Regions from separate parts of the Homo sapiens genome. Here region 2 is linked to region 1. The links are contacts of gene promoters, found by promoter capture Hi-C in human tissues and cell types (Jung and others, 2019). All regions are on one chromosome and are shown on one strand. The core of a region is centred on a gene start or on the middle of the fragment in contact, and the rest is flanking DNA. Distances in the headings are between cores, read along the strand shown. Region 1 holds the start of PDLIM2 (PDZ and LIM domain 2). Region 2 overlaps PPP3CC (protein phosphatase 3 catalytic subunit gamma).

The links. Contacts are between HindIII fragments. The study calls those that stand out against the background at their distance.
Region 2: a contact is called between a fragment that was not itself captured here and the fragment with the promoter of PDLIM2 in region 1, in 1 of the 25 tissues and cell types used here (hippocampus).

Annotation. Positions count from the first base shown.
Region 1 is chr8:22,579,225-22,586,602 of GRCh38, reverse strand. It overlaps PDLIM2 (PDZ and LIM domain 2), which reads right to left and starts at 6,128. Exons shown (of 9, transcript NM_001368120.1): 1 at 5,906-6,128; 2 at 5,073-5,224; 3 at 1,713-1,782; 4 at 1,441-1,586; 5 at 1,204-1,282. The coding sequence starts at 5,998. RefSeq lists enhancers at 1,258-1,927, 4,202-4,894 and silencers at 4,233-4,527, 6,092-6,181, 6,912-7,071, 7,082-7,171, 7,272-7,341. The HindIII fragment of the contact is 15,508 bases long and covers 2,070-7,378 here.
Region 2 is chr8:22,519,463-22,526,840 of GRCh38, reverse strand. It overlaps PPP3CC (protein phosphatase 3 catalytic subunit gamma), which reads right to left. Exons shown (of 14, transcript NM_005605.5): 7 at 4,273-4,350; 8 at 4,092-4,186. All of the region lies in intron 1 of LOC124901905 (a long non-coding RNA gene), which reads left to right. Among named protein-coding and RNA genes, the nearest start is that of SORBS3, 29 kb to the left of the region's middle. The HindIII fragment of the contact is 6,953 bases long and covers 1,347-7,378 here.

The DNA.
Region 1 (7,378 bases), core at 4,879-7,378:
ATCCCCCAGCCCCAATACATCAGCCGTCGCCCGGACCAGTGTTTCTCCATCTCCCAGCATGTCGGGCCTCCTGCTCATCCTTCCCTAAACCCTCTCACCACCACCTCTAACGTCCAGCAATACTCCTCACACAGCCTTCCTTCCCCTCCCCTCCCAGAACGCCTCCTGCTTTTGTAATTAATACCACACTGCTTAGTGCCTAATTGCTCCAAAATTGTTTTGCAAGTTTGCCTTATCTCTACAACTGCATCTTCAATTCCTTAACAAGGGGACCCATGGAATATATCTCTATGGCCACAGTGCCAGGCTGGCCTCTGGGTGGGCACGCAGCGGGTCACTAGGCAGCCGCTGTTCGGAAGGCCCCCAGAAAGATCCTGCTCCTTCCTCCTCCAGAGCCTCTGGGTTCTAGTGCCCTCCCTGGCCACCCCCAAAGGCTCTGCTTTCTGGAATGCAGAATCAACCCAAAGGTAGGGCTCAGCAGCTGGGCCATATCCCCATCACCCCAAAGGCTGGACGTGCCCCCCACGCCGTCCCCAGCAGCTGCGGCCCAGGGCTGTTGGCTGCCTCACTCCCTCACCATCCCCCACCGTTGAAGAGGAGAAATACCACCCAGGAAGGGGGTTAGGCTGTCACCAGGGGCCACTGGGACCTGGCTGAAAGAGAGTCCAGGGGAGCTGGCGGGGGTAGGGGGAGGAGGAGACAGAATAAGCCAAGAGCGCTCAAGGCAGAACCGCAGTCCCACTGGGGCATCTCTGGGCTGAGTCAGAGGAGGAAGGGAGGGTGTGGGTGGGAGTCAGGCAGGCCCGGGTCTTGGAATGGGGAGGAATGTGTTCGAGAGATGCAGCCAGAGACGAAAGGGAATCATCCCAACAACAGCAGCGAAACTATTTCAGCCACAGCCCAAGAGAAACATACTGGGCAGGGAGGAAGTCAGCAGGATGGGAGGGGAGGGGGATGAGGGGAGGGGTGCAGGAGATGGACGGGCTACTGGGCACTGCTGGGCAGGTCTTGGGCACAGCACAGGTGGCCCACGACCAGAAGCATGGCCTCCCTGGCTCAGGAGCAGAGCATGCCTGTGGCCAGGAGAAGGAGGCCATGGCTGCCCAGGTGGGCCTGGCCGCCTGCAGTCCCGGGGCACTGGCAACCCACAGGAACGGGAGGTGCTTCTGTTCCTCCAGCCTGTCCTCCCCCAGGGAGCCTCACCTGTCGGCTTCCAGGGCGGCCTGAGTAGGACAGGCGGTCAGCAGCGGGGAGGCCCGGGGAACATGCCAGACTCTGGAAGCTGAAAGTGGGAAAGGGACAGTGTGTGCCAGGGCCACCCCCAGCCTGCCCAGGGAGGATGCTGCCCCGGGCTCCCAAGCAGAGCTCCTGAGACTCAGAGGAGCCAGCCTGGAGCTGGCAGCGCAGGCGACCAGGGTACCCACTCACAGGCACACTCACCTGCGGCTGATGGCTGCCTCTCCAGTGAGGGAGCTGCTAGAGGGTGGTGGTGAGAAGGGGCTGCCGGCCCTCGGGCTGAGGGAGGTTGGGCTGGAGTAGGAGGACCTTAAGGAGGACTGACTCTCAGTGTATGTCCTCACGGAGCCCTGTGGAGAGAGTGACTGTGTCAGGAAAGGCAGGGCTGCCCCGCCAAGGCCGCCCTGCCCTCGGGCCTCACTTTCATGCACCAGTGATCAGGGTGCTGAGGCTGTCAGGGGAGGGCACCAGCTTACCTGGAAGCGAGTCGCCAGCACTTCCAAGGAGCTGTCCCCATTGGTCTGCCCTGGAGACGTAGCCTGAGACCTGAGAAGGCAACAGAGGGAGGGAATGTCACAGGGGCCCTGCACCCTGCAACCCCCAAAAGAGGCCAAAACTGTTCCCAGATCTAGTTCTCAACACCAGTAAAAGCTACAGAAAATTTGGACATCCGGTTGTCAACTTTTAACTTTGTCAAACTCAAGACAAACAACTATCATCAATGACAACCATGGTTCCTTAAAAGAAAGGACAGTTGGCCAGGCACATTGACCCACGCCTATCATCCCAACGCTTTGGGAAGCCAAGGCAGGAGGATCACTTGAGCCCAAGAGTTCAAGACCAGCCTGGGCAACATAGGAAGACCTCATGACTACTAAAATTTTTTTTTAAGTAGCTGCACATGGTGGTGCATGCCGGTAGTCCCAGCTACTTGGGAGGTTGAGGTGGGAGGATCGCTTGAGCCCAGGAGATGGAGGTTGTAGTGAGCCGTGATTGTGCCACTGCCTTCCAGCCTGGGCAACACAGCGAGATTCTGTCTCAAAAAAACACCAAGGCCGGGCACGGTGGCTCACGCCTGTAATCCCAGCACTTTGGGAGGCCAAGGAGGGTGAATCTCTTGAAGTTAGGAGTTCCAGACCAGCCTGGTCATCAACAAGGTGAAACCCCATCTCTAATTAAAAAAAAAAAAAAAAAAATTTAGCCAAGCCATAGTGACGCATGCCTGTAACACCAGCTACTTGGGAGGCTGAGGCAGGAGAATTGCTTGACCCAGGGAGGCAGAGGTTACAGTGAGCCAAAATTGTACCACTGCACTCCAGGCTGGGCGACAGAGTGAGACTCCATCTCAAACGACAGTAACAACAGCAAAACCCACCCCAAAAAAAGAAAGGATAGTTTGGTTCTAAAAAGTAGAACGTACATAACTTCATCAGAAAGTTCAAACATTCAGTTTTATTAGAGAGTCCTCACATTATCCTGCCCTTTTTTTTTTTTTTTTTTTTTTTTTTTTTTCTATTTTGCCTGGACTTTGTCACTGATATCACTCAGCCTCGGGTTTGTAGATTGATTTGGGGGAAGATTACTGATTTTTTTGTTTTTTGAGATGGAGTCTCGCTCTGTCACCCAGGCTGGAGCGCAGTGGTGCAATCTCGGCTCACTGCAACCTCCACCTCCTGGGTTCAAGCAATTCTCCCTGCCTCAGCCCCCCAGGTAGCTGGGACTACAGGTGCCCACTAGCATGCCCGGCTAATTTTTGTATTTTCAGTAGAGACGGGGTTTCGCCGTATTGGCCAGGCTGGTCTTGAACTCCTGACCTCAGGTGATCCGCCCGACTCGGCCTCCCAAAATGCTGAAATTACAGGTGTGAGCCACTGCGCCCGGCCTGATTACTGATTTCATAGAAATAATCCTTTATATTTTAACCCATGGAGAAACTGAAACCCAGAGAGGGAAAGTGAGCTGCCTCAAGTTCTAGAGCCCACGGTGACTGGGCCAGCTGTGCACCCTGCCCACTGGAGGCCAGGGTGCCTTTGAGCGCGTCACTCCTGATCCCTTTCTCAGGGGTCTCCCCAGTTAAACAAAGGGCGAGACCCGCCTGCCTCCTTCCAGACAAGTAGGCCCAGCTCCCCACCAGCGAGAGGGGCACGCCCTCCCAGCTCCCTGGGTACCCTCTTCCAAAGTGGAACCCAGCTGGAGCCCTGAATGGGAGGTAACTGAAGTCTGGGCTGAGGGACAGCCTGCCTCGTCCCATCTTGCCACACATTCCTGGCCGTGAGGCTGCCTCTAGAGATGTAGGGCAACAGGACCCTCCGCTTCCTGGGAGAGCCATGGGATCAGGGTGAGGAGAGCTCAGTCTCTGGCTCCAGCCTGGAGCCCTGCTTCCTGCCCCAGGGCTTCTGAATACCAGAGAGGTCACCTGGGAGGGTAGGAGGCGGGAGATGGGGGCGGGGGGGGGGGTGGGCATCACGTCAGCAAAAGTAAGGAGACTGGGCCGGGCGCGGTGTAATACCTGTAATCCCAGCACTTTGGGAGGCTGAGGCAAGTGGATCACGAGGTCAGGAGATCGAGACCATCCTGGCCAACGTGGTGAAACCCCATCTCTACTAAAAATACAAAAATTAGCTGGGCGTGGTGGCACGCGCCTGTAGTCCCAGGTACTCAGGAGGCTGAGTCAGGAGACTCTCTTGAACCCGGGAGGCAGAGGTGGCAGTGAGCCGAGATCACGCTACTGCACTCCAGCCTGGCAACAGAGCGAGACTCTGTCTCAAAAAAAAAAAAAAAAAAAAAATTAAGAGACTGGAGTCTGGGCTTGCCTGGTGCAGAACCAGAGGCCTGACTTACAGCCCAGGCCTACCTCCCCCGAGCCCTGGTCCCTCCAGAGAACCCCAGAGGAAGAGACAGTCCGAGGCTCCTGCCCTTCCGCTGCCAGACCCTCAGCCTCCTGTAGCTTTCTGCCCCATTCCCAGATGCCATGAGGTGCTCTCTACCCTCCTTCTTGGGGTCCCGCTCCTGCAAACACCCAGGGACCTGAATGACATGAAGGGAGCCGGCTTCTGCCACACCACAGGGCAGGGCAGTTGGAGAAGGAGGGGCTTGGTAGGGCTGAAGAGAGCAGGACAATGTGGGGGTGGCCAGGATGCAAGAGGTGTCTGACTCAGGTTCTAGGCCCGTGCAGAGGGCTCTCCTGGCTCGGGGATCTCCTGGCATTCCCGATCTGTGACTCACTGCAATGCCCCACCCCAGGGAGCCACCTGTTCCCCCTATAGCTTGGCCTCCAGGCCCCACCCTGGCCCCACCTTGGCTTATAGGCTCAAAACCCTAGGAGTAACCCAGGATCGGGCATCTGCCTTCAGTGATGGGGAGGAACAGACAGCCTCTATGAGGAATGAGCCCCCCAAGTCCTCACTTCCAGCTGGGAACTAAACAAAGGCCATGCCCTGTTGGAAGCAGGAGTCCTGGGGATGCAGCCTCGGGCATACCTTTCCCAGAAGGTTCCCCTCTTCAACCCACTTCATGCCCACGCCCTGTGCCCTGCACACTCTTGGGAACCAGTCAAACCCGGGCTTCAAGGTGGCTGGTGCCAGCTCGCCCTGCCCAGCCTGTGACTGCACGCCCAGCCTGGCGCCCACCTTTACCCAACCAGGCATGGGAACACCCCTCAGCCCACCCTGCTGCAGGAAGCAGAGCCCAGGACCTTCTCACCAAGGTGTGGAGAGGGCCCAAGAAGGCCGCTTTAGGGCTGAGCTCTAGCCCATGGGCAGGAGCAAGGGCTGCTCAATACGTGGGGTGGTGGAGGAGGGGGAATGCCACAGGCTCTGCAGAGCGGGAGGCCCTACCGGTCCAGCTGCAGCCGCAGGGGCGAGGGGCTCTGGCGGATCTTGCTCTGGGCCTCGGCATGCAGCATGCCCTCCGCGCTTTCCCCGTTGATGGCCACGATTATGTCTCCAGGCCGGAGGTCAGCGTCCTTGGCTTTGCCCCGCTCGGCCACCTGTAGGGATGAGGAGCTGGCATGCTCAGACCGTGGCCCAGCTGGAGAAGGGACTTCCCACTCTGCTACCCAAGAAACACAGAGGCTGGCTTGACCCAGGCCGGCCTGCACCCTCCTGCATGTCCCTCTGCCTGCTCATGACACCCAGCTGATCAGCCATCCCCTCCAGGAGCGCAGGTGGCAGCCCCCACCCCACACTGGCATTCTAATGGGCCTCCCAAAGAATGTGCAGTGGCAGAATTTCAGGAACTGTGCTTGGAAATACTTTTGGATAGAGAGCCTTGCCCGTGCAAATCGCACCTTGCAGGTGGCTGCCTGCACAGCCCTCCTGTGAATGTTCCCAGCCTGGGCCCAGGTCAAGAGGAGACTGCCAAGAACTCCGGGGCTCTTGTTCTAGTAATCACCCCAAATGGCTGCCTGCAAGTGTGGGGATAGCAACTGGGGAGGCAAGAGCCGGCCCTGTCCTGGTCCCAGCTCCCTTTCACTCCCAAGGTCTGTTCCTGAAGTGGCCACCACATCCCCGTGGCAAAGGGCCACGGCTCCCTTACAGCCAGCACGCCAGGCAGCAGCAGATCCCTAGCTCCAGAACAGAAAAAGCAAGCCATCTGTGCAGAGTGGGGTGAACAGGGCCGACCTCGCTTCTGGCAGGACCTTCTCATCTCTTTGAGCCACCATCCTTACCTTAGTCACCATGATGGGCGTGTGGAAATCCCTGCCCCCTGTGATACGGAAGCCCCAGGGCGCTGGCCCGGCCACATCCACCGTCAACGCCATACCTGAGGAAGAGAGGACCAGGAGGTGAAGTCCATGCCCCTAGCCGGCTCTGGGGGCACTGTAAGGCAGCAGGAGAGGAGCCAAAGGGAGAAGGAGAGGGCACCACAGCTCCCGGAGCAGCTACTCAGGGGCTTTGGGGTGGGTAGAGGAAGTGGCTAACTCCCTCCCTCAGCCCGGTTTCACTTCCCCCCACCCTGGGAAGCCATGCTTCTGGGTTCTCCCTTCCTTAGTCTTCAGCCCAGGGAGCGACTCCCAGGAGGGGGCTGCCCAGGCTGCCAGGCAGGGGGCTTGCTGGAGCATGGGGGGCAGGGGCTGGCAAGTGGAGGGGATGCCAGCACCCCCTCAGTCTCCCCTCCTCCACCATCAGGGCTCAGTCCCACTAGCGCTTGCTTCCTGTCCCCAAAACCCACAGCACACGGTACTTCCTCTCCACTCTGGGGGAGGGCTGGTGAGTGGCCTAGGGAGAGCAGGGCTCAGGAAGCAGGAGTGACGGGTCAAGGAACAGGCTGGCACCAGTACAGACTGTGTAAGTCACTGGCCAGGTGAAGGACTGGTGGGGTGAGGCCGAGTCTTCACATGGGCCTCCTAGCTGCCCACCTCGTTCTTGGCAAAGTGGATCACACGGGCAAGACCGGGCTCCCCACCTCCCCCAGGGGCCGGCTGCCAGGGCAAGGAGGCCAGGGTTCATCTGTCAAGCTGGACACACCCACCCCCAGATTCCTGATGCTGCCCGACAGACAGCCGGGGTGACAGGCCTCCCATCCACAGCCCCTCCGCTGGGCAAGGAAGTGCCCTTGCAGACAGACCCCTGTGGGATTTCCTGAGCCTCTAGCTCTGGAGCCAGGAGCCAATCCAGGCAGGAAGCCGCGGTGCCAGGCTGGGCACCACCCTGCCCAGCACCCATCCTGGGGCTGCCCTGGGGACGCAAGTGCTGCGAGAATCTATCAAGAGCACCAGCGGTCTGTCCGCTCCATCCCCGGCTGCCTTCCCCTTGGGCCCAGGCCTAGCCTCTGTTCCCAGCACCGCCCCCACCCCAGTCCCCGAGGCCGGCTCGCGGCCGCCCCGAGATTCCCAGACCTTTGAGCCGGTCAGTGGACTCCGCGCTGCGGGCGCCGCGGGGAGGTGCCCAGCCCGATGGCCCGGCTCTACCAGTTCTGGAGCCTCCTTCGCTCCGAGGGCAAAGTACCCTGCGGGCTGGGGGCTGGAGGAGGAGCGCTCCGGCCGGGGAGAGCGCAGCTCGCGGGGGCGCCCCCGCTGATGCGAGGCTCCAGGGAGCTGGGCCGCGGACGAGGCCAGGGTTCCGCGCCGACAGGGGCGCGGAGAGGAGCCCGGCGCCGGGGAGGGCGGGCCGCGCGGAGAGGCGCAGGTGGGCGCGCTCAC
Region 2 (7,378 bases), core at 3,574-6,073, 58 kb after region 1:
TAGCGGATTTTAAAATTGCCGATTTCTCCAATACACAGCAGTGTATTGCCAGCATGCTATGTTTAATATTAACCATTCAGATAGTCGCACACATACTTTGATGCCAAACTGATTTTCTTTATATTTTGAAAGTCTTAAAATCCAATTCCTTAGCCTTTATCACCAGCAATGTTGTTTGCACTATTCTCTTAATTATTCTGTGGTCATAAAATAAAACAGGGTGTAACAGTTCTCCAGAAATGACAGATATAGGTCACGTCCTCATTCCTGTTTCTTTGCTACAGGATAATCTAGTGTTCTTAAAATTTAAGTTATTGAATGTCTAAAATGTACACCATATATTATTAAGAAAATAAATTAAAATATAGTTTCTAGCACTTAAAAAGCCTAACACTGGCTATGATGTACATGTTCCATTATTTTCACGTGTATGTATTTTATTTAGTTTAGGTAAATATGTCATATATCATTATTCAACAACTCCCTCAATTTCTACCCAGGAAAAAGAAGTGGGAGGTGAGTCTCAACAGTGAATGACTGGAAACAAGAGCTTATAAAACTGCTTTTGGGTGTGTTCCCAGTGGACAGAAGAAAACAAGAATAAGAATCTTTAAAAATCATGATTAAAGGTCTTTCGTGTAACTAGTGGAACTAGGAAATACCTGTAGATACCAAGAAGTCTAAAGAATATGAAAGAGCACTCCTAGCACTTTGGGAGGCCGAGGTGGGCAGATTGCCTGAGCTCAGGAGATTGAGACCAGCCTGGGCAACATGGTAAAACCCCGTCTCTACTAAAATAAAAAAAATTAGCCAGGCGTGGCGACGTGCACCTGTAGTCCCAGCTACTCGGGAGGCTGAGGCGGGAGAATTGCTTGAACCCGGGAGGCAGAGGTTGTAGTGAGCCAAGACCGCACCACTGCACTCCAGCCTGGGCAACACAGTGAGACTCTGTCTCTGAAAAAAAAAAAATAATATGAAAGAGGCCAGGTGTGGTGGCACACACTTGTAATACCAGCACTTTGGGAGGCCGAGGCAGGAGGACTGCTTAAGCTCAGGAGTTTGAGACCAGTCTGGGCAACATAACGAGACCCTATCTCTATAAAAAATATTTTAAAATTAGCCAGGTGTAGCGGCATGCACCTGTGGTCCCAGCTAGTTGGGAGGCTGAGGTGGGAGGATCACTTGAGCCCAGGAAGTCGAGGCTGCAGTGAATCAAGTTCCTGCCACTGTGCTCCAACCTAAGTGACAGAGACCGAGAGAAAGAGAGAGAGAGAGAAAGAAAGAGAGAGAGAGAGAGGGAGAGAAAGAAAGAAAGAAAGAAAGAAAGAAAGAAAGAAAGAAAGAAAGAAGAAAAGGAAGCAGAAAGAAAAAGAAAGAAAAGAAAGAGAGAGAGAAAGAGAGAGAAAAGAAAAGAGAGAAAGAGAAAGAAGAGCAACAGTAGAAGAAAAGGAAGAAGAAAAAGAATAATAGAGTTCCCTTTTTCAGAAAAGAAGGCACTTGTATGGGGAGTAACTGAGTACCCCCAGGGACTGTTTCAAATGCCACATTTTCTGCCTTTTTCCTTCTAAAATGCCTAAGAAACAACCAATGAAAATAAGACTGTTTTGAGATAAAAGTTACTAATTATGTCAAAGCCGACAGAATACTCAGGTAGAATGAACTGTGGCTTTTACTTTTTTTTTTATTTTTTAGAGACAGGGTCTTGCTCTATTGCCTGGCTGGAATGCAGTGGTGTGATCACAGCTCACTGCAGCCTCGAACTACTGGACTCAAAGGATCCTACTGCCTCAGCCTCCTGAGTAGCTAGGACTATAGGCATGCTCCACCTTGCCTGGCTAACTTTTAAATTTTTCTTTGTAAAGATGGGGTCACATTTTGCTGCCCAGGCTGGTCTTGAATTCTAGGCCTCAAGTGATCCTCCCCTTGGCCTCCCAAAGTGCTGAGATTACAGGCATGAGCCACTGTGCCTGGCCAGGACTGTGATGTTAAAAGTTTGCTAAAGAAATAATCAAGAACAAAACCAGGTTAGATTGAGACAAAAAACAAGCTAGCAGTGAGTGAGCTGTATAGTGCCTGCTGACTTAGGTGGCGTGTTTCAGCTTGGCACACTGATAAATCCATTGAGCAATCAATAGATACTCTTTTTGATGAAGTTAAAAAAGAAAGTGAGAAAGAAACACCTTCATTACAAATAGGAGATCTAGGGCCACAAGAGTCCTTGAAGACGTTTAACAACACAAACAGTCCACACCATTGATAAGAGAATAAATAAGAATAAAACCTAAGTTGCTAATATACTGGAAATATCAGGAAAAAGGAAATAACAAATGAACTTAGGGAGAAGCAGAGCATTGTAGGACAGATAAGGCTCAGAGAAGAATGCTAAGTTAAATGAAAACATAAGACTAGGACAGAACTTAAGTTAAAGACATGCTTTTTAAAATAGACAAGTCACTGGAGGACACACTAAAATGACTGACCCAAATCGGATTTAAATGAGATGTGCCATTCCATGGTTTACTTTTAAATAGAGTAAATATTAATTATATTTTGGCCATCTTTGAAACTTATCTCCCCAACTGCATATACAAGGTATAACTATAAAGTAATGAGACTTAAGAAACCACCAGCTACAAACACACCAGACCTTTTTATCAGATGAGTGTGGTCCTTTGATATTATCACATCAGGTACAATAACAGTAAAATCTGTATTATTATAGTAATTTATATTTTGAACAACACTTTAATATCCATTTTCCTTATTCCAACTTATCTTCAACAACCCCATATGACAGATATTTTAAAGATGAGGCTCAGAGAAGTATCTTGTTAAATGTGACACACTTAAAAGTGAAGCAGGACTAGACTGACTCCTTGCTTTGTGTTCTTTTCAGCACAACTTGTTGCCTTACCATATAATTAATCCAGAGATGCTGCCATTACTCAAAACGTTTTTGGAACTCCTCTTTTGGAAGTGCCTCCAGAGCCACTGTATCAGCAACACGAGAAAAACCAGTCTCATTACCTTATAATCATACCTTGTTTCTGACCCCAAATGGTATCATCTAGCTTGATCACTCACCTTATTTATCAGTCTTGACTCCGAATGACTTTTGGCTGTCCAAAAATCAAATCCACCCTCAAAGGACGAAGATTTCCCATCATTGAGGATAATCAAAAGAATGTGTCGCAGACTCTGAAGGCAATGCCAAAAGAGGAGTTCCAAAAATGTTTTTGAACAAGGACAGCATTGTTGGAATAGGTGTGTAGCCTCCCAAGGTAACTACTTTGAAGGGACAATACTCATTTGGATATGTTTGTTCTGGCATGTTTATTTTCAAAGTCCTATTAATTTATAGTCATACTTTATAAACAACAAAATAGTTACAGAAATATGAAGTTTTTAGTAGGACCACTGCCTCGATAGAAAACTTATAAACTATTAATCATAAAAGTTTTAAATTAAAAAAAAGACTTTAACAGGATAAAGTCTTAGAAGTAAAATTTCTGGAACAAAAGGCATGTATATATCCATTCTTCTTTTTTCATATGGGAAACTGAAGATTAGAAAGATAATGTGACTCACTCAAAGTCACAGTATTCGTTTCTGGCAGGGTTTAAACTAAAAATGAAGGTTTTTTTTTGACTTTGTACACTAGGTCACTCTACCTAGACCATATCTCAAGAAAAACAAAAATAGTTTAATAATTCACAAAGATTAAAATACCAATGGTGACTTTGAGATACTGTTATAAACACATTAAATTCACCAAAACCAATAATTTATGCTAACTATTCTGGCATGAGCCTGAAGCAATTTATTCTTCTTATACTTTGATTCTGTAGTATCAATCTGACCTATTATGATCATTATTTATACTCACAAAGAAGCCAGTAATCCTTAGGAGATAAAGACCAAGCAGCAGCATAAATTCTAAATTTCTTGGCCTTTGTTTCAACTAAGACCCCTTTTTTTCTTATTTAAAATTTATGTTTTAAAATGACACAAACACACATACGTACATACAATTAAACCAGAGCTCACGTTTACTCATAAATTCAAACTCAAATATTGCTGGATTCCTTTACCTTTATTGTTATAGACATCTAGGTAATTGGGGGCAGAGAAAATTGTAATAAGTGATGGAAAGCCTGTGGCTTGGCTCTTCCTGTACATTCGATACCTGAAAAAGAGATGAAAGTCCATCTGTCTGCATATTAAATGCAAAGACTCTGCAGCGATATTTGGTACAATTTTAATGTAACTTACCCAGCATCTTGGGCTTCATGGGCTCTGATAATTGATAGTAAATTATTGTTCTGCAAAAATTCACAAACTGCAGGGTAACTGGAAAAGAAAATTAGAAAACATAAATCCAGAATTAAAACAATTTTTTTTAATAGGAAGATGGGGAAAAGTCAAGGTGATATTAGCTGATTTTGTTTCAAAACTACAAGTATTACACACTACTGAAATTTTATGAATAGCTTAGTACTCATCATTCTGTTTCTCTATTTCACTAATATACTTCACTACAGATCAAACATGAAAACAATAGATAATCCTACAATAGAAAGAGCTCCTCCATCTCATCTTTTAATTTTTTTGTCTTAATCCATAACAATACAACACCAAAACTTTTATCAGTGTCTTGATATTACAAAGTACAACAGTAGTGTGTGTGTGTGTGTGTGTGTGCGTGTGTGTGTAGTAGATGCTAAAAATTCAACACATACTTTTCTTCAATTGTCAAATTGTTACAGAAATAAAAGAATATACTTACAGCTTCACAGGTAATATAAACACCAAGATAATATTATGCAGGAATACATATATACATATATATGTATATATATAGGTTTGTTTTTTTTTTTGAGACGGAGTCTTGCTCTGTCGCCCAGGCTGGAGTGCAGTGGTGCAATCTCGGCTCACTGCAAGCTTATGCAGGAATATTTTAGGAGCAGATGTAAATATTTTAGCCAACCATATTCTAAAAAAAGATACAATATTCTCATATACTCCTAAAATATTCTTTTCATACTATTACCTCTCTGAATGACAAATACCTGATAGGAAGAACTGGAGTATACAAAATTAACCTGGAATTACTTAGGCATTAATTATTTAGTTTATTTTTAAAATCTTTGTTTCTCATTATGCTCATTAGAACAAATTTACTTTTAAAGTAGGTTGTAGGTGACGTAAGCAAGATAGCAAAAGAGAATGTCCCCAGCCCTGGTCCTCCTACAGAAACAATAGTTTGGAAGCCATCCATGGCCATAAGTGCCATTGTAAGAACCTTAGGATTGAGGTAGGTGGTTATGAAACCTTGGTGGAGCCCAAGACTAGGAAGGGCTGCTTGGAGAAGGCAGGCCCACTGACCTTTCAGCTACAGACCCAGAATCAGCCTGTCCCTTGTAAACCCGGCTCCAGTCCCACTTGTCTGCAGTCCTACCACCAGCCTCATCCATCCTGGGAAGGAACCATGTCTGTTGATGCCCCTAGTAACAGATCCACCAACCAGACCCAACTGCAGACTCAAAGCAGCACTCTGACCTGGCTCCAGCCCTGCTCTACTGTGGCCAAGAGGAAGTCCTGCCTTAACAGGGGCCTTGTGGAAATCATGCCTGTCCATTCCTCTGGTAAAAGGGCTGCTGATTGGACCCAAACATAAACCCAAACCAGCCTGGGACCCAGCTTGGGTCCCACCCTATTGAGTTCCAGAGACAGCTCTCCCCATCCATGGGACATACTTGTCCATGCCCCTAGTGGTACGCCCACTGACTGTGAACCCTAATGTAGCCCCATAATCTAGCTTCAGCCCTGCTTAATCACAATACCACAGGCAATCCCATCAACCCAGGGACTCAATAGGAGAAGGTATTTACTTGGCGAACGAGTCCATAAAAACTGGAAGGCCCCTGCTCCTTCAAATGCATAGACTCCATTGCAAGGCTATATGAATTATAAAGAACCAGGCAAAAATGACACCACCAAAGGAAACTAATAAACCTCTAGTAACTGGCCCTAAATAAATAGAGATGTATGAATTGCATGACAAAGAATCCAAAATAATCATCTTAAAGAAGCTCAATGAACTACAACTAAACAAAATCAGGAAAGCAAATAAATGAATAAAGAGAGATGTTTAATAAAGAAACAGAAACCATAAAAAAGAAGCAAATAGAAATCCTGGAGCTGAAGAATACAATGACTCAACTGAAAAGCTCAAGAGACAGCTTCAACAGCAGACTCAGGCAGAAGAAAAGAACTGGGAAACTTAAAAGACAGGTCATTTGAAATGATAGCATTAGAGGGACAAAAAGAAAAAAGAATAAAAAAGAATGTGGAAAGTATACAGGACTTATGGGACAACATCAAGTGAAAATAATACAGGCATATGGGAGTTAAGGAGAAGAAAAAGGGGCAGAAAGCTTCTTATTTTTAAAAACTAAAGGCTAACAGTTTAACAAATCTAGGGAGGAAAAGGGACATTTCAATTCATGAAGCCCAAAGGTCTCCAAATAAGTTAAACACCAAGACTCATTATAATTAAGTTGTTAAAACTCAAAAAGAAAAAATCTGAAAGCAGCAAGAGAAAACCTACTTGTCATATAATATACAAGGAAGCTTCTATAAGACTATCAGTGAATTTCTCAGCTGAAACCTTGCAGGCCAGGAAAGCGGGAGATAATATATTCAAAGTACTAAAAGAAAGAAAAAAAAACCTGCCAACCAGGAATACTTTACTCATCAAAATTGCCCTTTAAGAATGAAGGAGAGATAAAGACTTTTCCAGACAAACAAAAACTGGAGTTTGTCATGACTACACCAGCCTTATGAGAGCAACTAAAGGAAGTTCAAGTAGAAACTAAAAGATGCAGCTGGCCACAGTGGCTCGTGCCTGTAATCCCAGCACTCTGGGAAGCTGAGGAAGGCAGATCACTTGAGGCCAGGAGTTAGAGACCAGCCTGGCCAACATGGTGAAACCCCATCTCTACTAAAAATATAAAAAATTAGCCAGGTGTGGTGGTGTGTGCCTGTAGTCCCAGCTACTCAGGAGGCTGAGGTAGGAGAATCACTTGAACCCGGGAGGCAGAGGCTGCAGTGAGCCAAGATCGCACCACTGCACTCCAGCCTAGGTGACAGAGCAAGACCCTGTCTCAAAAATAAAGTAAAACCTGAAATTAATTACATTAGGTGTGTGAATGGGGACTAAAGTGTAGAGTTTCTATACGTCATTGAAAGTAATTTCTTCTCAGCGTAAGACAGAGTGCTATAACTATAAAATGTTTGATGCAAACCCGATGAACAAAAAAGCACAGTAGATACACAAAAGATAAAAAGAACCAAAATACCCCACTACAAAAATAAA